Regions from separate parts of the Homo sapiens genome. Here all the other regions are linked to region 1. Evidence: promoter capture Hi-C in 16 types of primary human blood cells and fetal thymus (Javierre and others, 2016). All regions are on one chromosome and are shown on one strand. The core of a region is centred on a gene start or on the middle of the fragment in contact, and the rest is flanking DNA. Distances in the headings are between cores, read along the strand shown.

Region 1 (4,461 bases), core at 1,365-3,864:
CTTCACCTGGGCCCCAAGGGCCAATGCTACTGGGGAGGCTCCCCAGGGTTCCCCAAGAGCTAGAATCAGGAAAAGGGAACACAGCAGCATGAACAAGGAAGGCTTGAAATGTGAAGTGGAAAGAAAAAACATCCCCATAAAATGCTCACAGAGAGAGCATTGTCCCTGGAAAGGGGAGGGTGCTGTGGTGGTGCTGGGAGTGGCATACCCTCGCCAGTGCTGCAGAGGAGAGAGGCCTCTGCGGAGGGAAACACCTGCGGCTCCTCTTCCCCCTCCCTCCAGCCCCAGTCATGCCTCTAAGTTACTTGTCTCTTGCCAAATAGGCTTCCCAGGGTGGTTTGACAAAGTTTGATATGAACTCAGGGAGGTGGCTAGCAAATACTATCAGCCTGAGACGGAGGTAAGGTCAGGTGGCCAGTCCTGTCTGCCCTCTCCGATGAGCACCCAGGTTAGGGTAGAGCTCTGGGGACCCACAATCTCTCTCAGACCTTTCAGCTCAGTCCCAGCCTGTCCCTGCCCATTAGACACATAAAGTCCAGATCCCCCTGAAACAGCTCCGTCCCTCTGGCTCTCCATGGGACAGCTCCTCTGCATTTTCACAAACAGGCACGCTCTGAGCAGGCAGCTGGGAACACAGACACCATGGGACAGTGCTGCCAGGCTGAGGAGAAGGCAGGGGGAGGGGAGCACCCAGCTGGCAGCTGTATAGAGGAGGCCAAACCAGCAGCTAGGCACTGTGGTTGAAGTGGCACTGCCTGGCTGAGAACCCCTGGCAATATTCAGTCATCCTAGATGTATGTGAATGCCTAGCACTTACCTGTGCCTTCCAGAAATTCTCCATTCATCCCCTTATTCCTACTCAATATGCCGAGGGTAGGAAAGCCAAGAATTACTGCTGAGGCCCAAGAGCCAGAGTGGGCAGCAGGTGACTTCACGCTCCCAACCCAAAGTTCAACCCATGTGCAGGCAAGCGTCTGATTGTGGCCAGTGGGAGAGGGCTAAATCCAACAGCTGGTCTAAATTTGCCAAAGTAAACTACCTATGCTAATCCACTGCCAGTCTCCATTGGCAGCAAGGACTGGCCTGGTGGTCAACTTGACAAGCTCTAGAAATACCAGCAGAATGTTGCAGGAAGTATATGGATATTGTTCGTTCTTGCAAGAAGGCCCGTACAAATTCAGGGTAATTTTATCATCACCAAATCTTTCAATCCTGTGATGACAATAGCGAAACTACAAGCAGCTCCAGGCCTTCTGCCTCAGGAGCTAACTCTGGTCTTTCAGATGCAGAATAAGGTTGCAAAGTAAAGTACAAACTTCTCCTTATGGCAACACCAAACAGGACCCAGTAACCTGGACAACTGTTTACCTCCTACCCTGGAGCACAAAGGAAATGACACAGCCCCTGGCTGAAACCAGAGGCAGTGTGGCTCAGGGATTATGTGAGCAGGCTCTGGAGTTAGGGTCTCAGCACCACGCAGTTCAGACAAGCAGCCTAACCACTCTGTGCCTTGGCTTCCTTCGCCAGGAAATGCGAGTGATGACTTTCTCTCACGGAGCTGTTGGGAGGCACAGATCCCAAACAACACCTGTAAAGCACTTAGCCCAGGACCCGGCCCTAGCAAGCAATTAGAAGCTGTCTGCCTTTATTTTAAGTCGCCCCTCCAGCTAATGGGAAACACAAGGGCAGGATCCCACCTGACGTCTTCTCTGTTAGAGCCCAACGAACAGCTAGGAGAGACCTTTGCCCCCACACTAAACAAAGGAGAGGGGCGTGTGAAGGGAAAAGGAGCCTCGGCTTCCGTTCATATCCCCCTTGAAGGCACAGCAGACTTGAGGATGACCTGAGAGGTGTCAAGGGAGGGTCAGTGGGTCCGCCACGCTGTCCACCCCTGCCCTTGAAGAGGACACCACCTGCCTGGGGCTGAATGACCAAGGCCCCTCCAGGGCCTCAGGTAGCTAGTCTTATCAGGTGCTGGAACCTTTGCGGATTTGGTTTCTTAGCAGAGCTCGCCTCACCCTTTCCGCCCCCGCCCTTCCCCCCAGTCCCCGAGTCCCCAGCCTCCCTCCTCAGGACTCCGCCAAGGCTGCAGGAAGTGGTCACCCAGGAACAGCCCGAGGGGTGGCCTCTGCCTTCCTGGCGTCAGGAGAGTCGGACGCTTGGCCCTTTCCCAGCCCGGCCTCGTATAGGGTCCGAGGAGCCCATAGCTGCACTCCTAGTTAGGTGGGAGGTCGGACTCCGCCGACAAATCCCAAAGAGAGGGGTGGGGAAGAAGGAGATACCAGCCCTGAAAGCGAAAAGCCGGAGAGGAAAGTCCTGAAAAGCCGCCAGGAATTCCCAAGGAGCGCAGGGCTGGAATGGAGGCGCTGCCCGGACCCTCTCCTCCCACCCAATCCCGCGTCGTCACCCCCTGCTTGGGGTCGGGGGCTCTGGGGTCTGCGTAGGCTGGGAGCCGTTCCGGAACCGGACACCTGGCGCGCACGTCCCGGGAAAGGCGGAGGGTGCATTGCCCCTCCTCACGCCCCCTGTCCCCTGTACCTGCGGCGGCGGCGTGTCTGGCGGGACCCAGCAGCGCGGGGCGTGTTCCGACCACTTAAAAGTTACAAAGTGAAACTCCGGCGCCTCCTGCACATGCGCAGAGCTGCGGCCACCCCTTTCCCAATTTGGAGTCTTGGCCCGCGGCGGCGCAAGCCTGTACGCAGCTGACTGCGCCTCCCGCGGTGGCCCTCGGCGGTCCTCTGCCCCGGCCTGGCCTCCTGGTCGCCGCTCAGCCCCGCAGCTCCTCCCGGAGGTCTGCAAGCCCCGGACCGGCCAGCTCACGTCCAGGCTCCAAGAAGGGATCCGCCGGGGCGCACCCTCTTCCGTCCCCCGGCACGAGCCCAGTCTCTGGACGCCTCCGGGAGAACTGGGCCAAGCACAGGGTGGTCGCGGCGCAGGGAGAGCATCTGCAAACGTTGGTCCCTGTAGTGCTTTGAATTTCCCCGAAGAGCTCTTAGACCCGCCCCGGGAGAGTGGGGTTGCGGGGGTGGTAGCATGGGGAGCTCAGCAGGATTCAGCCCGCACCTCGGCTCCGGGTAGTCGGGAACCGCGCGGAGCGCCCTGCAAGAGGCCACGGCTCCCCCGCCGCTGTAGAAGGCCGGACCGTGAAAGCCCGGAGGGTCTCCGTTCGGGCAAAAATGTGGGGGCGGGTCGCAGCATTTCCAACGCCCCCTGGGGCTAGTCCATTACTGCTCGAGCCAGGGCCGCCAAGGGCACCTACTCCAGCCCAGGTCCGAGAGCGCGGCATGCCTCCCGGCCGGGAGCCAAATGTTTCCAGGGAGCCGGTGGCCTCCACAACCGGACCGCAAGCTCGCGAGGGCAGGGCCGGCCCGCCGCGCCAGGGACTGCTGGGCGCTGCGCGGGAAGCGAGGCTGGGTTCGGGGAGGACCGCGCGCCCTGGGAATCAAGGAGCAAACCAACCCGTCCGCAGGCCCCTGTTTCCCTATCTGTGAAATGAGTGGTTGGACCAAAGCTTCCTCTCAGGTCCCTTCCAGCACCCCTCTCTGAGCTCTGAGCAGTCCTCACCCCACATGCATGCCTTTGCAGGTTCTCCGACCTCCCTTCCATTTCTGAGCTTTCATCTTTTTCTGTAACGGCATAAAAATATCCTCCTTATGGCCGGGCGCGGTGGCTCATGCCTGTAATACCAGCACTTTGGGAGGCCGAGGTGGGCGGATCACCTTAGGTCTGGAGTTCGAGACCAGCCTGACCCGCATGGAGAAACCCCGTCTCTACTAAAAATACAAAATTAGCCGGGTGTGGTGGCACATGCCTGTAATCCCAGCTACTAGGGAGTCTGAGGCAGGAGAATCGCTTGAACCTGGGAGGCGGAGGTTGCGGTGAGCTGAGATTTCACCATTGAACTCCAGCCTGGGCAACAAGAGCGAAACTCTGTCTCAAAAAAAAAAAAAAAAAAAAAAAAATTCCTCCTTACCTCCCTGTCCCTGATTCTAGCGCCAGTCTGTGGCTGTCCAGGAGTGGGGTGGGGAGGGTCTCTTCCTGCCTCTCTCAGTTCTTTTCTGTCCCATCTGTCTTTCCCCTTCTCTCCCCAAAGCTCTAGCCACTAGTTATTTTCCAGGGTTTTTCCTCTATGCCCCCCGCCAGTATCATCTCTGCCCTTGTCCCTCCATAGCTGCGCCTGGCCATCCCCCCTCCCTGCTCTCTTACCTCCACATCTGACGGTCTGCAGAGTCCTGGGTGTGGCCCCTGGACTCCCCGTTGGCTCCTTAGACTGTCCCTGTCCAATCTTTCTTCCACTCCCCACTCCCGCACCTGCCTGTCCTCCTTCCTTCCTCAATGAATGGTGCCCCCACCTGTCTGGTCTGTGCCATGGGTCCAGGCAAGTGCAAGGTTCCGGTCTTGGTAATTAGAATGCTGGAGCCACTGACAAAGATTTCAGAGAGAGAAAGGATTTCTAAATTT
Region 2 (4,306 bases), core at 492-2,991, 370 kb before region 1:
AAAAGTGAATGCTTTCAGGTGGGAACAAAGAACTCTGGCATTTTAGTGTCCAGTCACTTGGTCCAAATATGGGGAAAGGGGGAATTTTTAACTGGGGAGTATTAATATTTAGAGAAAGTTTATAAAGGTTAAAATATTTATCTTGAACTTACCAGGTGTACTTGTTGAAGAGGCCTTAGAAGTTACAGGCTCTGAATCTTCCTAAATATACAGATATATATTAATATCACATCTACCAGTCCCCTGTTGCTATATACATTTAGTGTTTTACACGAACACTTCTAATATTCTTTCTGCCACTCCCCACTTTCTCTTTCATCGGTCTTCTCTCCCTTTCATTTCAGCTTAGACTTTCTTCTCCTGTCTTCAACCATCTTCCCTTCAACCCTCCCCACAGCTCCTTTCCTCATGTGTTCTCCTTGAGAACTTTCACTAGCCAATGCTACAAAGCCAGACACGAGAGACAGATTTGAGGAATGGCATCTAAGGTGGCCAGATGGAGCAGGGGGAACATATTATTTGTTGCACACCAATATACAGCACAGACAAAGCAGAGTTTGCCCAGCTGAATCAGGGAGGAGGGCATGAAGGTTACACTCTGAAGGGGCACAGCCAATAACCATCAAGCTCCTAAGGGAAACATATGAATTTAGGCGAATTCCTTCCTTTTAAATTAATGCAAGGGAACTGAGATTCTAAGAGATGAAAAAAGTAGTGAAATGTCATTCACTCATTTAAGGAACAGAATTAAACTCCACAGGTTTGAACTTCAATGCTTTTCCCATAATTTCACATATTCAACTCACTTTACTAAGACTGCCATTAAAAATTTATAAATAACAGTCAAAACAAGCCACTTCACATGCATAGTTAAAAATTAGCAAATATAAGTTCAAACTAATTAAGCCCAAATTAAATAAATGCTGACACTATTTCCTGAATGAGCTGTGCCTGAATTCCATATTTTAAGGTATGGTAGACTATCTTTATTAACTTACACCTTTGTCCTCTTTTTGTTCTGTTTCTATTGTTGATCCCTTTTCAGCAATTCTTCTCCTACAAAGAAGGCAAATCCGATTTTTAAAAATATTATCTGATTCAGTATAAAAACCACTTCTCTACGAGGAAAGAAGTGCATCTAGTTAGTTGTATTTGGAATACAATTAAAATCCTCTCAATTCTGGGCATGTCCATTATAATGAAATTCCTTACCTCCTGGCCAGCAGGGCACTCATTTCTTCCATTAAACCACTACCCCCTAAAGGAAGGGGTCCATTTCCACGGCCTGTATCTGTTTTAGATGAGGCGGAGTTCACACCAATAGCATTCCCTCCACTTGGGAAAGAGGTATCCTCCATCTTAATGAGAATATACAGACATAATCAACTCCTATGTTAGACAACCATATTTTTATTAATATATTACATCTAAAACAGAAGGAAACATCAGCATTAATTTTAAAAAACCTAAATATTATTTTTTAAGCTTTAAGAACCAATAGATTCTTAGCATGACTTTATATATCAACAAGAGTTTATCAAAACTACTATCACCAAGAATGCAATGAAACAGTATCATGTATCTCTTCCTGTGCTGCCATGAAAAGGGCATGACTTTGCTCTGATAATATTCCTGCTAAAACAACCCCTGCATAACTAGAATCTAATCTTGAGGAAAAATCAGATAAGCCAAAGTGAAGGATAACAGGCAAAATAATTGTCCTACAGTCTTCAAAAATGCCAGTATTATGAAAGATTGAGGAACTGTCATAAAGTATATCAAAGAGACATTATAACTAAATGCAATAAATGATCTTGCACTAGGAAAAAAACTGTCACTAAAGATGTCATTGGACTATAGATGAAATTTGAATAATACATTTGTAGATTACAGTATTCTATCATGTTAACTTTCCTGATTTTGATAATTATATTACTGGTTATGCAGGTAAATGTCCTTGTTCTTATAAAATTCACACTGAGGTACTTAGGAAAATAGAAGCTTGTGTCTCTGAGTTACTCTCAAATCATTCAAACAAAAGTGCATGTGTAGGCCGGGTGCGATGGCTCACACCTGTAATCCCGGCACTGTGGGAGGCTGAGGCGGGTGGATCACCTGAGGTCAGGATTTCAAGACCAGTCTGGTCAACATCGCGAAACCCTATCTCTACTAAAAATACAAAAATTAGCTAAGCATGGTGGTGGGTGCCTGTAATCCCAGCTACTCAGGAGGCTGAGGCAAAATCGCTTGAACCTGGGAGGTGGAGGTTGCAGTGAGCTGAGATCGCGCCATGGCACTCCAGTCTGGATAACAAGAGTGAAACTCCGTCTCAAGAGAAAAAACAAAAAAAGTGCATGTGTAAAGAAGGAAACATATCCAAAGAAGGAATAAAAAAGCAAATACTGGTAAAATGTTAATGGGTGAATGTAGGTGATGAATTTATAGAAATTATTTATACTATTCTTACAACTTCACTATAAAAATTTAAATTATGTCAATTTTTAATTTTTATTTATTTTATTTTTTGAGACAAAGTCTTACTCTGTCACCCAGGCTAGAGCGCAGTGGCATGATCTCGGCTCACTGCAACCTCCACCTCCCGGGTTCAAGCGATTCTTCTGCCTCAGCCTCCCGAGCAGCTGGGATTATAGGCATGTGTCACACATCTGGCTAAGTTTTGTATTTTTAGTGAGATAGGGTTTTAACATGTTGGCCAGCCTGGTCTCGAACTCCTGACCTCAGGTGATCCGCCCACCCCAGCCTCCCAAAGTGCAGGGATTATACAGGTATGAGCCATTGCGCCAGGGTAAATTATTTCAATTTTTTAAATCAATGAAGTTCATAACATTTCATAAAATTAGAATACAATAAATTCAACATTTTAGATATTTAGGAAGAATAAGACATATTAAAAAAATTTTTCAGAAAGGTATTTACCCGTGACACTTTCCTAAGTTTTGCTCCGGCAATTGCAGCTGCAAGTCCAGTTAAAGGGCGATTGTCTTCTGACATGGATGCCAAAAAGAATCCAGATGCAGGGAGGGGTGGGGCAGGAGGTGGTGGAGGAGGAGGGGGTACTTGATTAGGGAGAGGAGGGGGAGGAGGGGGCGGTGGAGGCCCGGTGGATGGGAGTGGAGGAGGTGGAGGGGGCCCTGGGGGAGGAGGGAGGGCTACTGAAGCCTGTGCAGGCCCTGGTGGGAGTGGTGGAGGAGGTGGAGGTGCAAGTGGTCCCAAGACAATGCCTGAGAGAGAGAAATGTTAAGTAAGACCATCAACAATAGAGCTGAGTGATATTATTTTATGTGGGAAGGTACGCAGAATGCCATGCTAAATTAAACTGACTCATGTATTTACTTAATGAGTCCAATTTATCATAGTTGTAAAAGTCTAGATCAGTTTTTGAAAGATACTGAAATGTAAGGTCCAAGTATATATAACTACTTACTTTAGGTTAGAGCTTTAGTAATAGAACTATGCAACAGATCATCTAATTAAGACTTTTTTTTTTCATGGGGATTTGGTAAATAAGCAAAATAAATACTTATAAAATTTGGAAGAGAGGTAAGCGTCCCTGAAAAAACAAACTAGTATATAGGATGGCAGTTAGTACTACTTGAAATATCAGACCCAAAATAATCCACATTAACCTTAAGTGTTGAGACAGTAAATTCAGTAACAGTGAACACATACATTTAATTGTTTACAGTCAAAGTGGCTGTATTAAAAACATGAAGGAGGAGTAAGTCCCAGCTTCAGCATTTTAAAAAATACTTCACATTTAAATTCAATGGATAGCCAAGGCTGAGAATCACTGAAGTAAAGGAATTTACTAGTACAAAGTAAAACCTCAAAATAACGCTCGGAAATAATTAAATACCATAGGATTTGAAGTAGAGTTGTTTTTATCCCACAAAATGGGGGGCAAGAAGAGAAATGTTCAAATGTTATAAAATCACAAAGGGAGTGAACAAGAATTTATTTAATAACAGAATCCTGAAACAGTAGGTGCTCTTTTAGTTAAGGTTTAAGAGGGGTGTTTTCAGAACGAATAAAATGCTATTTTGCACACTGGGTGGTAATTGCTAACTTTTTCAGCTTGAGCAGTTACACAAGCAGAAAACATCAATTGTTAAAAGAAGCATCTAGAAATAGTCTGTCCCTTCTGTAGGGGTTGTTAAGAGTTCTGAGGGTACAGCAGGTCACTTTGTCAGGCTGACTGTGCCCATTTTGTACAGTATAACTGTCATGGTGAAACCAAACTGAACGTCTTAGAATTCTGACTAACCTTTTAAGCAAATTTGTAAGT
Region 3 (4,488 bases), core at 1,454-3,953, 390 kb before region 1:
CCACACCTGGCTTAAGTAGAAGGTTCTGAAATCTGCCAGAGGCTGAGCAACAGAAAGCTTCCAATGAGAACTCAGAAGGCATTCACTCTGCCTGAAGTTGTGCTCTGCTCACAGCACGAGTGTGGCTGTCCCTCTCTCGCTCCCACCAGCTACATAATAGGGACTTTCAGGATGCTCCTATAAATACAGACTCCAGAGAGGTTTCCTCAAAAATTAAAAAAAAAATTCTATGCAAATATGTAAGTACTGTCATTGAGGATTACAGAAATACTTTGCATCAACTACAGATGTCTCAAAATAGAATTCTTTCTAGCTCATTCAGTTTTGTTAGAAACACTTCATGTTCTCCAAAAAAGAAAAGCACCTAACGAAAAGCATGTCCTATTCATGCTAGCAAGAAATGAATCCCAAAGGACACGCACCAAGAACCAAAGTAAAAGAATGTCAGCAAAACAGGACCCATCTTTTATCATCCCAAACTGCTATTTCCATCTCTGACTTTCTGCCAAATTATCTTTATCTTCCTAAGACGAAGCAAAGACTCAGAGCCCTCAAATGGCACGGAAGCGGCACCTGGTCTGCCAAGACATTGCTGTTAAACAGAGTCTTTTGGATTAAAACCAGGGAACTCGGAAGGAATGACTACATGGATATAGATGGATAAGATGGAAGATATAAAATAAGAAGGGCAGGAGGGTAAGATTATTCCTTTTTTCCTTTCAAGGCTGACAGTGATAGAATAAACAGCAGCACAGCAGGTTCAGATGATATGAAAACCACTGAATTCTGCCCAGGAATTGAAAGAAGGGCTTCTTCACTTCATCGAGCTCTGGAAAGTCTGTTTACTTAGAAACAGCTCTTGAACTACAAGAGTCAAATGGACCTTCTGCTATTCATATAATTGGAGCATGGATCTCGTGTGGTCCCATTACATGATTGGAATCAGTCTTTCTGAACGGCAGAATGTGCTTCCAGGTTGAAGCACAATGGAGAATGTACTGAAGCCACCACAGAGATGCTGGTAATTCAAACTGTGAAAGCACGTGGCGCAGAGGAAACTGACACAGAACAGCACACCACTGGTGCTTTATGCAACACCACTGACCCCAAGATGGTCACTCCATTGATTTTTCCGCATTGTTTACATCCAGGATGCATGCTGTCCAGTGCAATAGCGTCTATGACTATAAAACAACTAAAAGCTGCACTTAAGATGGGAGAGCCAAACTCAGATCTTTTTTCTCCTTCTCTTCAAAGATCAAAAGAAGAATAAACCAAAAAAGATTAAAAAAAAAGAATAAACCAACCAGTAGCTGCCGAGAATACAGTGAAAGAGGAAATTCAGAACTCAACTTTATCGGGGATGGGCACGGTCGCTTATGCCTGTAATCCCAACACTTTGGGAGGCCAAGGTGGGTGGATCACCTGAGGTCAGGAGTTCGAGACCAGCCTGGCCAATACGGTGAAACCCTGTCTCTACTAAAAATACAAAAATTAGCCGGGTGTGGTGGCGCATGCCTGTAGTCCCAGCTACTAAGGAGGCTGAGGTAGGAGAATCGCTTGAACCCGGGAGGCAGAGGTTGCAGTGAGCTGAAATCACACCACTGCACTCCAGCCTGGATGACAGAGCGAGACTGTCTCGAAATAATAATAATAACAATAATAATAAAAAGCTTTATCTATCCTTGCTTGTATAGTGGCAAGGAAAAAATAAAAACAAAACAAAAAGAATTTAAAAAAAGAACTCAACTTTAGAGGTAGAAGGCTCAGAGAGAATGACTGACTAGCCCCACAGCCTGAAAACTGGTAAAGTCAGTCCCAGTCCAATGACCTGCCCACAACTCCACACACAAAAAAGGACAGACTGAGAGAGACTGAGGGCGGGAGGAACACAGAGAAAGGGAAATCAAGTCCAACAAGGTGGCAAAGACATGGACTCAATAACAATTTTTACCATGTTTTCTTTCAGAAACAAGGACATTTTATGTGAGGATCAAATATTCTCCCTTCAAAAACTTCTGCAATTGAAGGCCGAGGCGGGCAGATCACCTGAGCTCAGGAGTTCAAGACCAGCCTGGGCAACATGGTGAAACCCCATCTCTACTAAAAATACAAAAATTAGTCGGGCATGGTGGCACGCGCCTGTAGTCCCAGCTACTTGGGAGGCTGAGGCAGGAAAATCCCTTTGAACCCAGGGGGGGGAAGTTGCAGTGAGCCGAGATCGCACCACTGCACTCCAACCTGAGTGACAGAGCAACACTCCGTCAAAAATTTTTTTTTGCAATTGAAACTTAAAATGATCAAGCCCAAAGTACCTCTGGGAAGGACACCAAATTGTAAAGTCCTGACTCAGGCCTGAACCTCCCATCCCTCTAGTAATAAAGAAGAAAGGAAATGCTACCTAGATTTTAACAGGGCTTTCTTCTCAATATCTAAGCCTTCCCAATTACTTTCCTCAGATAAACTATAAGCTATTCTTCTCCTGGAAATTTAAGTGGCAAAGTCAACGTCTTTTACCAACCATCCATGGGCTATTGCTGAGTTGCGGAACTAGCCTACAGCTAACTCAAATTCATCACCTCAGACTCACTGTGATGCCCAACCACTGGCACTGGGGTGGCCTTATGACTTACGACAATCAAATGGGGTTTGTGAATCCATGGTTAAGCTAGCCTGCCACCAAGGATGGACAAACCTCAGACTTGATCAATGGGTGGAGGGAAACTCCATATTTAAAATGCCCAGTGCCTCGGTCAGCAGAACCAACCAAGTGACACCTGAGATCAACTGGTAGTAATAATGAAAAGCTGGTATTTCTCACATAAAACACGTTGAAAAACATTTATTTATTTAGAGATGGAATCTCGCTCTGTCGCCCAGGCTGGAGTACAGTGGCGCGGTCTTAGCTCACTGCAACCTCCACCTCCTGGATTCAAGCGACTCTTCTGTCTCAGCCTCCCGAAGAGCTGGGATTACAGGTGCCCACCACTATGCCCAGCCAATTTTTTTGTATTTTTAGTAGAGATGGGGTTTCATCATGTTGGCCAGGCTGGTCTCAAACTCCTGACCTCAGGTGATCTGCCCACCTCAGCCTCCCAAAGTGCTGGGATTACAGGCGTGAGCCACCATGCCCGGCCATGAAACATTTATTTTTAAAATGCCTTTAATCTTTAAAAAAAAAAATAAAAGAAAAAGAAAAAAAGAAAAGAGGTTTCACAGATGTGACTAAAGCATGGACTGTTAGGCGCTTAAGAGACCAAATTTTTAAAAGCGTTCTGTAATGTATCTCTCTTATATGGTTGCAACAATGTGTATTTTAAGTGTAAGCCAAGAACCTTTTCTCTCAGTTTCTATAGACTTGGATGGAAACTTTTGGACTTGATGGGAAAATTAACTCTCAATCTAAACACTAGCCAATGTAGACTTTTTCTTCTGAGTGCTTTTTCCTATGGAATTCAAAGTACCAACTATTCAATTCTCGATTTTCTAAGCCTTCTTAGAAGAATAACTATTTACTAAAACCCAACCAAACCAACCTATAACATCATCCATCTCCTTTATTAGTTATTTCTTTATGCTTTTAGAATTGTCATCTACTGCTGAAGAAATCTTTCTTGGAATTGAAGGGAACAGTTAAATCAGATTTACATGATAAACTATGGGTTGTCATTTGTATATAGAACTTTTACGGAATAAATGTAGTCTAACAAACTGGGCTCTCTAATGAAATATGTAAGCTTTTCTAATAATTTCTATGAAAAGCTATATTCTCTTAGAATTTTTTTTTTTTTTTTTTAGAGACAGGTTCTCGCTCTGTCACCCAGGCTGGAGTACAGTGGCATGATAACGGCTCACTGCAGCCGCGTCCTCCCTGGGCTCAGGTGATCCTCCCGCTTCAGTCTCCTGAGTAGCTGGGATTACAGGTGTGCACCACCATGCCTGGCCTAAATTTTTAAATTTTTTTGTAGAAATGAGTCTCCCTGTTACCCAGGCTGATCTCAAAACTTCTGGCCTCAAGCAATCCTCCCGCCTCTGACCAGTTTACCGAGCTATTTAGATGTCCTAACTACTAGGAATTATATGTCTTTAAAAACTGAGGAAAAAGAACAGCACTACTCAAATGGTATATTCTTTTTACTCTCAGCCACCAACTGGGGCCCCTAATTTTCTCCCTCTGCCTAGAATTCCTGTGTCCTACACCAGAAGCGTCTACGGGCCCTGCTCTCTGCTCTTTATGAGTATTTAACATGCTTCACAGAACGGGGGTGCAGCTCAGTGACTGTGATTCTTTGGTTCAAACACTTAATTGGGGCTTCATCTTTGATTTTTTCTGCATGTTAATCTGCAAATACTCAAGGCCTACTATGTGCTTTAAATGATACTAACACTTCCGTTTAGAAGGTTGTGTGCATCACAGAGTATCTGTAACGGGGACAGTCCTATTTCCCTTTCTCAATTTTCAGATGTATCGATTCCTTCAGATTTCAA
Region 4 (4,660 bases), core at 1,845-4,344, 330 kb before region 1:
GAGATGGGGTTTCACCATGTTGGTCAGGCTGGTCTCGAACTCCTGACCTCGTGATCCACCCACCTCAGCCTCCCAAAGTGCTGGGATTACAGATGTTAGCCACTGCACCCGGCCAAGACCTCTATTATTAACATATGAGAATAGGTAGCCAGAATTCTTTCTTAATGAAAAAGTTACCTAAGTGAAGTACAATCAGAACCACATTGGTTTCCTGTTTAAATTCACCTCATTCTACCACTGTTTGAATTTTCTTCTCTATTTCTGCCTCCACTCAGGAACTGAATGCTTGACTTACAGCCTCCAGTAGCTCCCTTTTCAAACCACAGCTAGCTTTCTGGAGTACAGCTTTACTCACATTATCACTCTTGCTTGAAAACTTACACTGAATCTCTATCACCCAAAGGTCTCAAACGCCCTTCTTGATCACCTACCTTTCTGAATTTATTCCCACCAGGCCAAACAATTCCCTGCTCTACAAACACAGCTCATTCTTCCCACTTTTTGTACAGGTATGCTATTCCTCAGGCCTGATATGTCTTTCCCCCTCATCTTCCCATGCCTACAGTATGTCCAACTTTCAAAATCCAGACCTGAAAGTCAGCTTGTCACTAATATGTTCCCGGCTGCTCCAGTGAGAAGGCGGCTCGTCCCCTTCACACACCCAATACAGTATGTTATCTGTCCTCAGACAGGGTTTCTCTTGTGTGTTATGGTTGTGCCTTACCTCCCCTGTAAGAGGAGAAAGAAGATCTGTGAGGACAAGACTTGTGTCTAATTTGCGCTGGCATACAGATGCACTCAAATGATGGATGAATTAATTTGTCTATAGAAAAAAAGAAAACACCCAAAAGATATGTCTTTACCGGGCAGTTAAGACAAAGCAGATGTTGGAGAAAATTTGAAAGCCTACTTTTTTTTTTTCCTCTAAGTTAATCCATATAGAATTTTCATTTTCTTTTTTTTTTTTGGACATTAGCATTCAAAATAACATTTTCTAGTTTAATACTATGCCTTTGCCTTGTTTAATTCCCATGATATCCTGACATAAATATTCTCATGACTCACATTTTATAAATTAGGAAATAGCTTTAGAGAAAGCACCAGAGGGAGAGACAGAACTAGAGTCTTTTGACTCTAAACTCAAGTTCTTTCTACTAAATCACAATAAAGACCTTAACAGTTTACTTAAAAACACAAAACTAAAAGTAAATTCAAATTTTTGCTTTCCTAATTTCTCACTCTAAACTGACTTCCCTCAAAGGCGTTTTTAAAAATGCTTTGAAGATCTTGAACTGAAGGCCAGACAAACGCAGTAAAAATAAATGGCCTGAAGGCTCGAAAACCCAATCCCCTTTGTGCCTCCCTTTCTAGGTATGGACAGCCTGGGGAAATCCCAGCTCTCCATGTCAACCTTTCTAATTGGAAATTGGGAGTGACAACAGACATATTAACCTCACATTACTGTGATTCACAAAAGGGAGGACTGTGAGAGGTAAGTATGAGAAGAAAGTAGAGCAGGCAGACCTACGAAAAGACTGTCCCCACCTACCCAATCCCCAAACCTGTTACTCACTTAATACTTAGTGAACAGATTTTTTTTTTTTTTTTTTGAGGCAGAGTTTTTACTCTTGTCACCCAGGCTGGAGTGCAGTGGCACGATCTCAGCTCACTGCAACCTCCGCCTCCCGGGTTCAAGCAATTCTCCTGCATCGGCCTCCCGAGTAATTGGGACTACAGGTGCCCGCCACCACGCCCAGCTAATTTTTGCGTTTTTAGTAGAGATGAGGTTTCACCATATCAGCCAGGCTGGTCTCGAACTCCTGGTCTCAAGTGATGCACCCGCCTCGGCCTCCCTAAGTGCTGGGATTACAGGTGTATGCCACCGCACCTGGCCAAACAGATAGGTTTTATAGGGTTCAAAATGTTAATTCTCCAATAAGATTAGTTGTTTCGGAAAGCTAAACTAAAAAACTTTGTCCAGGGTTATCTTTGGGATTCTTTTCAGGTCCAAATTTTTAAGATTTCATGAAAGCATTAATAAAGAACCGCAAATGGAGTATATCCAGAACCAAATGTGTTATCTGCAGCACAGTATTTCCTCTTCCATCCTCTTTCACTCTGTCTCTGGTTAACAGGACCATCTTTACCGGGGGCCCAAACTGACACACCTGGTCATCATTTTAAAACACTGTTCTCTCCTTCCCGGCCTGCCCATTACATCTTACTGACAAAGAGAAAAGAGGTTGAGTTCTAAGACCTCGGTACAAAAGCCACTAATGCCACTGTCTAGCTGTGGGTCCTCGCATCACTACAGTAGTGACCTTCTGTAAGTGCCAATCTCATTTCTAAAACAAGGATAATACCACCAACCTTGTAGGGTTGTTATAAAGATGATTGGTTATGTATACGCCAGATTAAGACCAAGCACACAGAAGGTGACCAATAAATAGATCATTATTCCTGCCTCAGAATGGCTTTAATTTCTATGTGAGGACAAAGGTAGAAAGCTAGAACACTGCCGTGGCAGGTATAGCCAGCACTAAATGAAAGCTGGTCACCTCCTCTTCATTCTGCTCCTCTCCTCTCTCTACTTTGTCAGTTCAGGCCTCATCTTTCTCACCGGTATTATTACAACAGTGTCCTGAATTGATCTTCATGCTTGTAAACTTGCATGCTCACCACACTTGTCCTAAAGCACAAACTTGATCATATCAATCCTTTATTTAGCATCCTTCAATGACTCTTCACCACCTCCATGATAACATGCACACTCGTCAGCACTAGGCCCTTCCCAACCTTATCTCTTGGGATGCCCTGCTCCTGACCCCCACCACATAAATTCTCATGTCCAAGCCACATCATGGCATATTTGTTATTTCCCAATTGCTCCATGCTCTCATGCTTCCAAACCTATCTAGAATGTTCTATCACTGATGAGCCCTCCCCATTCTTCAAACATAGCTGAAACATCACCTTCTCTTCAAAGCTTTCCCTGACCCTAGAATTTTCTTTGGTATTCCGAAGGCCTTTCTTCACACTACATTCGCAAGCTGTATCCTAATTTTGCTGGCCTTGTTTCTGGCAGCTGTAGCCCGACTGTGACATCAGGCAAGGGACAGGCTTTATTTATCATTTTTGTATTATTCCCAGTGCCTAACACAGTTTATAAAAAATACGCTTTACTGAAAATATTTTTGTGATATAAGCTTAATATTGTTTGCATTAATATCAACAATCTGGAAGACTAAAAAACAAAACTGTCACTATAAAGTATTTCTAGAAACTACTGAGATTTTTTTAATCCTATTAATTCCAAACATAAAGAGATTTTTAAATGCTGTGATAAAACTCATACAAATGTACATACTGGAAGGTATGTCAGGCCAAATTATCATTAAAAAATGAAATCTCAATATTATAAAACCTCTAGAAAATTTCAACCATAAGGAAGGTATGACTTTTGACCATGTTCTCATGTTCAATAGATTAAAAAATAAAACCCAGCAAAAGTAGTCTTTTAGATAATGGTAAAATACTTATTTTGGGGTGTTCTTTTTGAAAAGGCATGCTTCATCTTGGCTGAGAACAAAAGCAGTGGGATAATCTTACTGGTTATGCATATAATTTTCTTTTTTTTGGATTTAAAAATTATTTCCTATTTTCAAATGATTTAAACCTTTTAAGAAAATAAAAGTTGGGCAAATTTGCCTCCACCAATTATCACAAAAATTAACTTTGTAGTTTATATAATCCATAACTATTACCTATAAAAATCTATAAATGTACTGGATAAATAATAGAGAAATCAAAAATATCACTTTAGGTAATACACCCATTTAAAATTGAATCCATTTCCATGGAGAAAGGAAAAAATACACTGTAGCATTTGGTATAAAAGGAAGAGCACTAATTCAGCTCTTTTTCAAAAATGTTAGAACATGTGATTTGTGTTTTTTTAACTTCCAAATATAACTCACTGTATTTAGCACCTTCTGTACTTTCCAGTATATTAGATAATTGCATACCAAGTTAAAAACAAAATAAAGGAAAACATTTCTGCCACCCACCATTTTCATTAAAAAAAGGAAATATCACACAAACACACAGAGCACCTTGTAAAGGTTGGTATGACTAGCCCCCCAGAAAGCTGTTTTTTATAAATTTAAAAAATTTGAGGACGTAGGGGACACGGAAGAAGAGGAAAGGAAAATTATGTGATTATTGGTTTTAGCACAAAACGTGAGCTAGTAATTTTCAAATTCAGTTCTAGAGAACCATGGAGGCATCTCAGTGGTTGCGGATCCGGAACCCTATATCAATCAGAGAAGCTCCATATTTTCTGTCCATTTATACACTGAACTACCAAAGATCTCATTTGCACAAAAATGTCCATAACTTTTTAAAGTCTGAAAATCACTGAGAAGGATTAGCCGATGACAACAGTGGATAATATTGATATTAGCACCTAATAAATAAAAATACAAACAGAAATGTTTAATATGGAAAAATGTTTTAACAAGTGGTAAAACATTAAGAAACAGGCAAGACTAATATTTGTAGTTGCTTTATCAATAAGTTTGTTCTGCTTCTCATCAGTTTTATCAGGCTACAGTTTGTAAAGGGAAGGGAGATGTAAGTTAAGCTTTTTCAACTTGGTTTT
Region 5 (4,581 bases), core at 746-3,245, 350 kb before region 1:
CAACTCCATCCTTCCCACTAGCTTAGCCTAAAAACCTCAACCCCTCTCCTTCCCTCATCCCCACCATACAATCCACCAAGACATATAAGGATCTGACTTCTCAACAACCACTTCTATCACCTGGGGGAAGCCACCATTATCTCCTGCCTAGTTCACTGCAACAGCCTCTTAACTGGCTTTCTTGTTGAGCTGCTGTCACAACACTGCACCTGCCTCAAGTCGTCTCTCAATAGTGTAGGCTCAACAGAGCAGACTGACTGATTCTGCTAAAATTTTAAGTCAGATCATGCCTATGTTCAAAACTGTACAATGGTTCTCCTTTCTCTCAGAGTAAAGGTTAAATTCTTCACAGTAGCCTGCAAGGTCCTGCATGATCTGACCTCTACTCCTAATACTCTCTTGTGCTCCAGCCTCCACGGCCTCCTTGTTTTCCCATGTACACACAAGCATCATCCTTCCTTAAGGCCTCTGCACAGAATGCACTTACATAGGTATCTGCTTGGTTAATTCCTTCTTTTCATCTCAATGAGATCTACCCTGACCACTCTATTTAAACTCACAAGTACTGAGACTGATAAGTAATGGACGGAAAAATAAAATAAAATTACAACCAGCACTTCCCTCTGCCCCTTCACAACATATAATCCTCCTTACTCTGTTGCATTTTTCCCCATAGCACTTACCATCTTCTACTATACCATGTCATGTTTATTGTCTGATGAGTTTCAGGCTTTTTGTTCCCTCCACTCTCCCCACCCTTCCCAATATAAGTACTTAGAACAAAAAATGCCTGTGACATAAATAAATGGAGCAGTGGAGGCATCCATAACCCAGAACACATACTGAAGACGGTCAAAGCAGACATGGGAAGAGGAATCTGGGAAAGATCTAACCTGAGGTCAGCAGGTAGAGAGAACGGGAATGAGCAGTGCCACAATAATCAAGCTGATTAATAAGTATATACACTGTCTGAAGAACAGCTGTACCAGCTCCTCCCCTGTCCTCCCCAACCCCAGCTCAATGGATGGAATGGCATTTACCACAGAAGACTGTTCTCTAAAGAAACTGAACAAGCTGCCTCAGATGAGTTGGGGCTTCCAGTGGAACTTTTAGTAGCTCAGCGTTTGTGCGGTTCTGAGGCCTGCCTGCTCACCATCCTGGTACTCCAAAGGTTAGCCTGTCAGCCTACGTACTCTGACCACTTTCAGAGAACTCCTAGTCATGGAAGAATGCTGCCCAGTAGAGAATGATTTTGTATTCTACTACTAAACCCTATAGTAATATCTGAAGATCAATGTGTTACAGAAACAGCCAACAATATTTCAACTTTTTAGTTAAATTTGTCACATGAAAATCATAGTACTCACAGATCACTTTATAATTACAAAAGTAAGACTTCTTGAACCATAAGAAGATTTTGAATTCTGTTAAGCGTATTTACAATATTTTAAACATACCTTAAGTATAATTTTTACAAAAAAAAACACATATGAAATTTTATAACATCTCATGTCCAGCATAACAAGTATCTGGTAACTTACTAATGACAGTCACAAAACTTACTAATGTAAGAATAAAAGTTGTGACTCTTAAACAGCTGATAAGACATAATCTACTTTAAACACAGGATGTTCAGTTTTGTCTTCTGAAGCATAAAGAAAAAGTACAAACAATAACTTGAAAATTTACCTTCTTTGAATTTCCAATTCTTCTTGGGATGGGCCATTTTGAACTTGAGCAGGTAGTTGTGAGTTTTGTCTAGGCAATGTTGGCCCTACAGAGGGAGAAAACATTACAGATGAACATTATTTTCATATCTAGCTGGACAGAGGAGATAAAATCATGAGAATAACATAAAACCATCACATATTTACAAACGTGTCTTCTTTTTGTCTAGCAAAATAAAATATAAGCTTTACATAACACAGAGCAAATGAAAGACTGCAACATAATACTGTCATCATCTCCAGAAGGCTTACTTGAAACAAATGGAAAACATCAACAATAAGGAAAAAGAAACATTTATATATGAAGAGCTTGAGTAAAACAAGTGTTCGATGAGCATCTGAAGAGGCACCTAAGCTTGACAGTTTCTAAGACAATGAGACATTCTCTTTGGGGTAATTATTCATGAAGTGGAGAGGGAGAACTTAAATGAAAAATCAGAATTCAAAAACTCACCTAAATAGAACACTGGAAATGAAAAACAGGAGAGAGAGAGAGCATGAGAACCTTATTACTAGACTCCAGTATGCTAAAGCATTTATCAAATTTGCCCAATTTAAGCTGCCATTTTTGTCTAATAGCCTAGCATTTCCAGCACTGGTGAAAACAAACATTTGCTAAACTTCCATATAGTAATTAACCTACTGAACTGAATTTTTAATGTAACAGGTAATTTTAAGTTTTCATTTAGGGTAAGAAGAAAAAAAAACTTGCATTCATACAACATGGTTCTGTCATGAGACACTAATGACCATCCATTCCCACATATCATGTACAATGCAGACCTGTTTTTTGCATCTTAGATAGAATGCCACTGAATTATGGGACATCTTAATGTCATTGGATATAAAAATCAAATCTGTCACAAAATGAGATAAATACTGGACCTAATATATAATACCTAGGGTTAAAATAGAACAATCTTAAAGTCTAATCCAGTAAACAAGAAAGTAAAGAAACAGTAGTTATCTTCCACTCTTGGAGAAGAATATATGAGTAATGACACACTACATATATTTGTGAATTCTAGTGTACCAGCAAATGCTCCTAACAGATATTCTGAAAGATTTGTAGACAACTTAGGAAAATAAGTTACGAAATAAATGCTTCTGTGCACTAAATTCTTGTAATCTATGGGCTAATTGTGCAAAGTATTTTATACTAGTGGAGTAGATTTCACAACCGGAAGTAAAGATTTATTAGGATGTAATGCAGTACTGGTGTATCCCAAGTGTGGAAAAACAGAATTAATTTGATCTGAACTTACCTACTAACTTTTTTTCTCACCTCTTTACAAATGTTTTTAGATTAATCACTTTATTTGTCCTCTAAAGACAAATTGATGACAACTGCAGTGATATATTTCATTAGATTTCCTAAGAGTCTGCTATTTTGAGAACCAAATAAATATTATAAAAAAAAATTAATCCCATGTAATCAATAACAAAAAAAAACAAAACTTTTGAAATTAAATACACACGTAAATGTTTGTATAAATGAAAATACATGATTGCTGTCTAGTAAACAGACTAGAATTCTTTTCTTGGGAAATTAAAATAATGATGTAAAAACAGACTCTCCTATTAGGCTATACACAAATGTTTAATACTTTACAGAGAAAAGACCTCTCTTCTGGGGACACACAAGTGTGGGGAGGGGCGGGTAAATCTGAGGTAGCATGAAATTATTTAGGGAATGTACTTTATATATCCAAAGTACTAAATGTGAGCATTTAGCATGGGCAACTCACAAGACCATTATGTTTTAACTATTTTTTAAAATAATGTTTACTTGAGTATTTAAGTTGAAAGCCTCAGGCTGCTTAAATAATGAAACAGCTGAATGTGAGTAGGTTAGACCTGTTTGGCATCTACCTCAAAGAAGAATGCAATTATACCAGTCACACACCTAGGACAGGTGTTATATATCAAAGGTAATATTAATGGATTAAATTTGCCAATTAAAATCTCAGTTTTAATTCAAATATATAGATTCAAAAAAGACGTCAAAATTTCAACTCAATCCTATTTATTTTATTTAACAGGTTTTTAAAAAACTAACACAAGTTTAATGTAACTCACAAAAGCTGAGAAAAGAAAATCTTTTAGCAATTTACAGAACCTGCTTTGGAATATTTTTTTAAAGCTTTTTAAAAGCTTACTAAGCAAATCTGTTCAGAAAGGAGATTTTTAAAATGTGGGTAATATTTTGTGGCTGTTATCATAATTATAAAAAAAATTTACTACAGTTTATTCCTGCAGCTGAGATGAAAAGCTTCAAGGAAGTTCCTTTTAAAATGGGGAGAATTTTGATCCTAGAACAACTCTTAACAATTCTTTTCTACATGGTTCTTTGTGATGATAATGGATTTTTGGGCTTTTTGTCTTTCCAGACATCCTTTAAATTGGGTGTGTGTGTGTGTCCGTGCATGGAATCACTCCCTTTGGCACTTTTTCACATCTACATTTAATCTGGTTGTTCTGTTTGTTTCTTCTTCAAATTGTCAGGTTGCAGTAACTAGCACATTGAAATTTATGTGCATTTAAAAATTAATACAAACATACTATAAACATTAAAAGTTCCAGGTAAATATAAATTTAAGGTACACAATTACATTTTTCCTTCTTGTCAAACATTCTAATGGGCTATAAAATTGGTAAGTAATACCAAAGGCACCCCACATGACATGAAGCAGCAACTAGGATCAGGCAAAGTCTGTCAGCTGCCGCTGTATGTTCAGGAATATAAACATTACTTTACACAGGTCACATTCCTAAATGAGTGTGTTCTCATAAAATGCAAAATAGGTACTTTCATAACCATTTCAGTGGGAAAATGACAATATTTTATGAGCAT
Region 6 (4,464 bases), core at 1,153-3,652, 430 kb before region 1:
GGGAGAGACACTGATGCCCTGTCCATCCCTTCTCTGGGCCTCAGGGCATTCCAGCAGGTAGAGAACTCCACCCTCCTGCCTGCCTATCAGTCTGCTTGGTCTTGAAAGTCTGCTGCACAGAGTGGGTAGTGGCCATCTGAATCAGTGCTAACACAAAAGCTAGACAGCAATGCTTACAGGCTAGCCAGGAAAATGTTTTTACCAGAAAATTGCTTGAGAAGAGAACACAGAGTTTCAGTAGGGACATGACGATTGAGGATGGAAATGCTTGGTGAAGCAGAACATCCTGGCGTAGCCACAAGAAAACACAATAACCTTAAGGCAGTCACTCGAAGGCATCCTGGAGCCCCAGGCAGGGAGCATTTCACTTCACCAAGGCGTCTGGGGCCATCAAGTGGGAGAAAAAACTGAAGCCTAAAGCTCCTGCTACTGCTCTCTGAGCTCCCAGATCCCTGTACCTGACACCTGCCACACCTGGCTCGGCAGGTAACTAAGACTGGAAGAACCAGATGAGGAGTGGCTCTGCCACACTTATTTGAGAAAATGTCTGAGTAGTATCTGTCCAGCTAGGTCTTCCTGAGTTTCCCATGGCTCTTAAAGATTAGACATCATTAACTGAGTTTCCCAGCAGCACACCTGCCTGAGGTAGATTACAGTGTGGACTATTCCCTGTGAGAAGCTTCCTGCAGCATAGCGCCAGGGAAGGGCTAACCAAGATCGTGTCTTTGCAAAACACCTTTCAGACTGCAGCACCCCCAGGGTGAACTTCAGAGTCACTTTGATCTCAATTAGCATTCTTGGATATTATAAACAAACACCTAGACTCCCAGGGAGGGGAAAATCAGTACCCCAGGAAAATCACAGGAGATGGAGTTCTCAGGGCTTTATCACAGGCTGGCCATCGAAAGCCACAGGGAGCCCTCAGGCTAGCCAGGGTCACATCTCACCTCTGCCCAGCCACCCCAGGTGTTTCCTAGAAGCCCCCCCTTTTCCCGCTTTGGCCTGCCTGGCTCTTTTTGGCTTCTGAAAACAAAGAGAGGAGCTGTGTGCAGTCAGCCTGAGACACGTGGGAAGATGGTTGCTGCCCCTGCTGGCCCTAAAGCTCCAGAAAGCCAATGCCACCGTGCAGGCGGTGGAGAGCATATTCTGATATGGGAGGAGGAGGCGTCCGCAGACCCCTAGTTCCTAACTTTGGGTCATGGCCAAGGGACCTCCTGGGGAAAACTGCGTGCTAGAGAGCCGGTGAGCATATCTTAAGTTAGGCCCAAAGGGGACTGGGTGGGTTTCTTCCTCCAGCACCCCTGCTCTTCCCAAGAGGAGCCCCTTTCCTTCCCTGAGCTTCCCCTTCCCAGGCTCCTGTTTTGACAGGATGCCTGGGTCTGATCACAGCCACAGGCCCGTTTTGGGCTGTGTTCCCCCTGGAGTGTATTGGCCAAGGAATTCCTGGAGCATTTGAAGAAAGGCCCCTTCCCAGGGGCAGTATTCCTCCTGTAATTAAAAGGTTGCATTTCAAAGACACTTTTAATGACCCCAACCGTTGTTGCCAGAAAGAAAATGCTACAGAAGACGTGACTGACAGATTGCAGGGAGAGTGTTCAGCCCAGTGCTGGTGCAGATCCCCGTGAGGACACAGGAGCAGGGGGTTTTGTCATCTTGAGGACCCATAGCTGACCGATGTTCATGCACGCAGGAGCATGTGTACCAGGCACCGGTCTAGTGGGAGAGTCAGAGGAGGTTGCAGCGGGCACAGAGTGGGCATGCTGTGATGGAGGCCAGGCGCCTGCAGGGGAGGACATCCTTATCTATGGGACCTGGCAGGTAGAGGGGAAGGCACTCCCTAGGGAAGGGCCAGAACAGACCTTAGAAGGGTGTATACTTGGGATTTAGATGAAGGAGAAACCTCCTTTCCTCTCACTTCCCTCTCTCCTTGTTCTTCCCTCCCCGAGGGCCCCTCCTAACCCACTCCACTGCACAGCCTGCAGCTTGGCCAGAGTTCCTTCCCTACCAGGACTCACTGTCTCGCTGGGGCCTTGAACCCTCTCCCCCCACCAAATAAGGTGCTGGTCTGGAGCTGAGCACACACCACAGTGGCCAGTTATGGTCAGTCTGTCACTCTGTTCCTTCTCATCCGAGAACTCAGAAAGCATTCACTGTCACTGGGCTGCGATCCCAGAACAGCCGCTATTCAAAACATCTTTATAAGGTCTGATTCTGCCTCTGCCTCACCCCAGCCCAGCAGAAGTCGACTTGGCTCTGGAAACATGATGGATTTTTATTCAGTGTTTTATTGGCCAAACACATATCTTCGGGATAAGATCTTCGGAAACTCACAGGGTTTGATGGAAATGCTCACAGCCTTCTTCCACACACATCTCTGTCATCGCTGGCTTCTGGACTTTTCGTTACTTTAGCCTGGGATAATATTCATCCTTCACTTCATCTGACCGAGACACAAGGAAAGTTTATACCTCAAACTATGCACGAAGCAGAGGAAGCTCAGTTTCAGGGATCTTTGTGAGGTTGTCCTGGATAAGGGTCCCGTGAGTCTCTCAGAAATTTGTCCTCCCAGAGTCAATTCAACCTGGGGACTTGTCATAGCTCTGTGGCCTCAAAAGCCTCTCATTCCCAGGCACTGTGACGGGAACACTGGGCTATTGTGTGACAGGGCTAGCTAGCGTGTGCACAGCTCTCGGCTGGGATCAGAGAGAAGTTTGCAGGCAGACCCAAGGTTTTAGAATCACAGAAATCTTCACATCTCTTCCCTTCCCAGGACCCTCCATCGTGGCTTCTGGCTGAGATTTTAGGAGAAGGATGCTCAGTCCAGTTGGTTTTCAGGTTGTGTCCACTCTGGTGAGAAAAGAGTCCGGCTTGGTGGGGGTGGGCAAAAGTTAACCCTCTCAGGGTCTGAACTTTGGGGTGGCCTCTGGGTTTCAGCGCCTCCCTCTCATTGAGTCCCAGGCTGCTGACCCCCCTGTCTGGATGTCCTCATGGTGCCTGGGGCATCCTGCCTTGGGTACCCACTATTTCTGCACCCCAAGGGCAAATTCTGTGTCTTACTTGGTGACCCAGGCGCCACCTTCAGAGTAGGAATTCTATAAAGACTCCCATAAAGCTGAATGAGGGAAGGACCCAGCAAAGGGTGGAAAGCTGAGATTGAGGAGCTGTGCTTGGGGAAAACCCCACATAACTGTGTTCTTTTCAGCCTCTCTATTTGCTTGGATCTCAGCTTAACACAATTTTGGGTTTCTTTTTTTTGTTTTGTTTTGTTTTTCTGAGACGGAGTCTTGCTCTGTCGCCCAGGCTGAAGGTCAGTGGCGCCATCTCAGCTCACTGCAACCTCCGCCTTCCAAGTTCAAGTGATTCTCCTGCCTCAGCCTCCCAAGTAGTTGGGACTACAGACGTGTGCCACCACAACTAGCTAATTTTTGTATTTTTAGGAGAGATGGGGTTTCGCCGTGTTGGTCAGGCTGGTCTCGAACTCCTGATCTCAAGTGATCCACCCACCTCGGCCTCCTAAAGTGCTGGGATTACAGGCATGAGCCATTGCACCCAGCCACAATTTGTTATTGAAAAAAAAAAAATTCCCACTCTTCACTACCTCAATTCAATCATAGGGCCACCTGTATCCTCTATGCCACCTCCTAGGCTGGGCATTCACCCGTCGAGCTTACAGGATGAGTCAGAACCCATCCTTGCTCTCCCGGAGCCTGAACTCTAGAGTGGGTTGGGAACAAGGAAAGGCAGGCGCCGACTGCCAACTATACGGGTGCATATCTCAGCGCGGTCACACCCTTCTTGCCCAGACCTGCCTCTGCTCTGTCCTCCTGGCCCCTGAGGAGCACCTGGGGCAGAGGAGGAGCCCCTAGGAACCTTCCATGATAGAGCACAGGAGTCTGCAAGCGGTTGATTTGGTCTCCTCTACCCGGCCCCTCCCTCTCTCTGGACCCTGCAATGTCGAGGTAGAGAGTGTTATTCCCATTTTACAGATGAGGACAATCAGATTCAAATAGGTCAGGTGACATGCCCACAGTCGCACAGTGGGAAGATGGCAGAGCCAGGTCTCTGCCGCCTGGAAGGGAAGCCTGTGCTCTGCTCATTGGAGAGCACTGCCTCCCTCGACCACTGCCAAGCTTTGATGGCAAAGGAGCAACAGAGGTCACGTGTCAGGGATTAGCAAGCAAGGGTGACAGGAGGAGGTGGCATTCCAGAAGGGCCTTGGAGTATGGGCAGGATTTTAGAAGACAGTAGAAAAGATGGGAAGGTTGACGTGGCAGGGGACACAGAGAGAGCCAAGTTGGGGAGGCAGGATGGTGCAGGCCATGCCCCGCAGCAGCTGATGATCCAGGTTACCCAGGGGCAGCCCCTATGCCTCACACCTCCAGACCCCCTCCAAGGCAGAACAAGCTCCTGACACATTTCTCATGATTCTCCAGAATTCCAGGGGGCGTCTTTTCCAGTTATCTA

Evidence for each region. The method cuts DNA at HindIII sites, captures the fragments that hold promoters and counts their contacts. A CHiCAGO score of 5 or more calls a contact.
Region 2: a contact is called between a fragment that was not itself captured here and the fragment with the promoter of TMEM63A in region 1, in 2 of 17 cell types (naive B cells and erythroblasts). The highest score is 5.4, in naive B cells.
Region 3: a fragment that was not itself captured here is called in contact with the fragment with the promoter of TMEM63A in region 1 in 16 of 17 cell types (fetal thymus, endothelial precursors, naive CD4 T cells and 13 more); the score reaches 11.1 in fetal thymus.
Region 4: a contact is called between a fragment that was not itself captured here and the fragment with the promoter of TMEM63A in region 1, in 2 of 17 cell types (naive B cells and endothelial precursors). The highest score is 6.3, in naive B cells.
Region 5: a contact is called between a fragment that was not itself captured here and the fragment with the promoter of TMEM63A in region 1, in 1 of 17 cell types (naive CD4 T cells). The highest score is 5.5, in naive CD4 T cells.
Region 6: a contact is called between a fragment that was not itself captured here and the fragment with the promoter of TMEM63A in region 1, in 2 of 17 cell types (erythroblasts and non-activated CD4 T cells). The highest score is 6.1, in erythroblasts.

What each region holds. Positions count from the first base shown.
Region 1 is chr1:225,879,766-225,884,226 of GRCh38, forward strand. It overlaps TMEM63A (transmembrane protein 63A), which reads right to left and starts at 2,615. Exons shown (of 25, transcript NM_014698.3): 1 at 2,539-2,615. RefSeq lists enhancers at 221-1,171, 3,374-3,423, 3,484-3,533 and silencers at 2,024-2,143, 2,704-2,863. The HindIII fragment of the contact is 8,028 bases long and covers 1-3,509 here.
Region 2 is chr1:225,511,659-225,515,964 of GRCh38, forward strand. ENAH (ENAH actin regulator) reads right to left here. Exons shown (of 14, transcript NM_018212.6): 7 at 2,938-3,242; 8 at 1,213-1,358; 9 at 999-1,056; 10 at 153-201. Among named protein-coding and RNA genes, the nearest start is that of LINC02765, 46 kb to the left of the region's middle. The HindIII fragment of the contact is 516 bases long and covers 1,484-1,999 here.
Region 3 is chr1:225,488,306-225,492,793 of GRCh38, forward strand. It overlaps ENAH (ENAH actin regulator), which reads right to left. Exons shown (of 14, transcript NM_018212.6): 14 at 1-4,488. Among named protein-coding and RNA genes, the nearest start is that of LINC02765, 23 kb to the left of the region's middle. The HindIII fragment of the contact is 2,064 bases long and covers 1,672-3,735 here.
Region 4 is chr1:225,547,256-225,551,915 of GRCh38, forward strand. The region is part of intron 3 of ENAH (ENAH actin regulator); the gene reads right to left. Among named protein-coding and RNA genes, the nearest start is that of LINC02765, 82 kb to the left of the region's middle. RefSeq lists an enhancer at 1,738-2,237. The HindIII fragment of the contact is 220 bases long and covers 2,985-3,204 here.
Region 5 is chr1:225,528,865-225,533,445 of GRCh38, forward strand. It overlaps ENAH (ENAH actin regulator), which reads right to left. Exons shown (of 14, transcript NM_018212.6): 4 at 1,690-1,774. Among named protein-coding and RNA genes, the nearest start is that of LINC02765, 63 kb to the left of the region's middle. The HindIII fragment of the contact is 169 bases long and covers 1,912-2,080 here.
Region 6 is chr1:225,445,739-225,450,202 of GRCh38, forward strand. It overlaps LINC02765 (long intergenic non-protein coding RNA 2765), which reads right to left. Exons shown (of 3, transcript NR_187303.1): 3 at 2,266-2,847. Among named protein-coding and RNA genes, the nearest start is that of LINC02765, 20 kb to the right of the region's middle. RefSeq lists enhancers at 413-973, 974-1,534, 1,535-2,094. The HindIII fragment of the contact is 3,451 bases long and covers 678-4,128 here.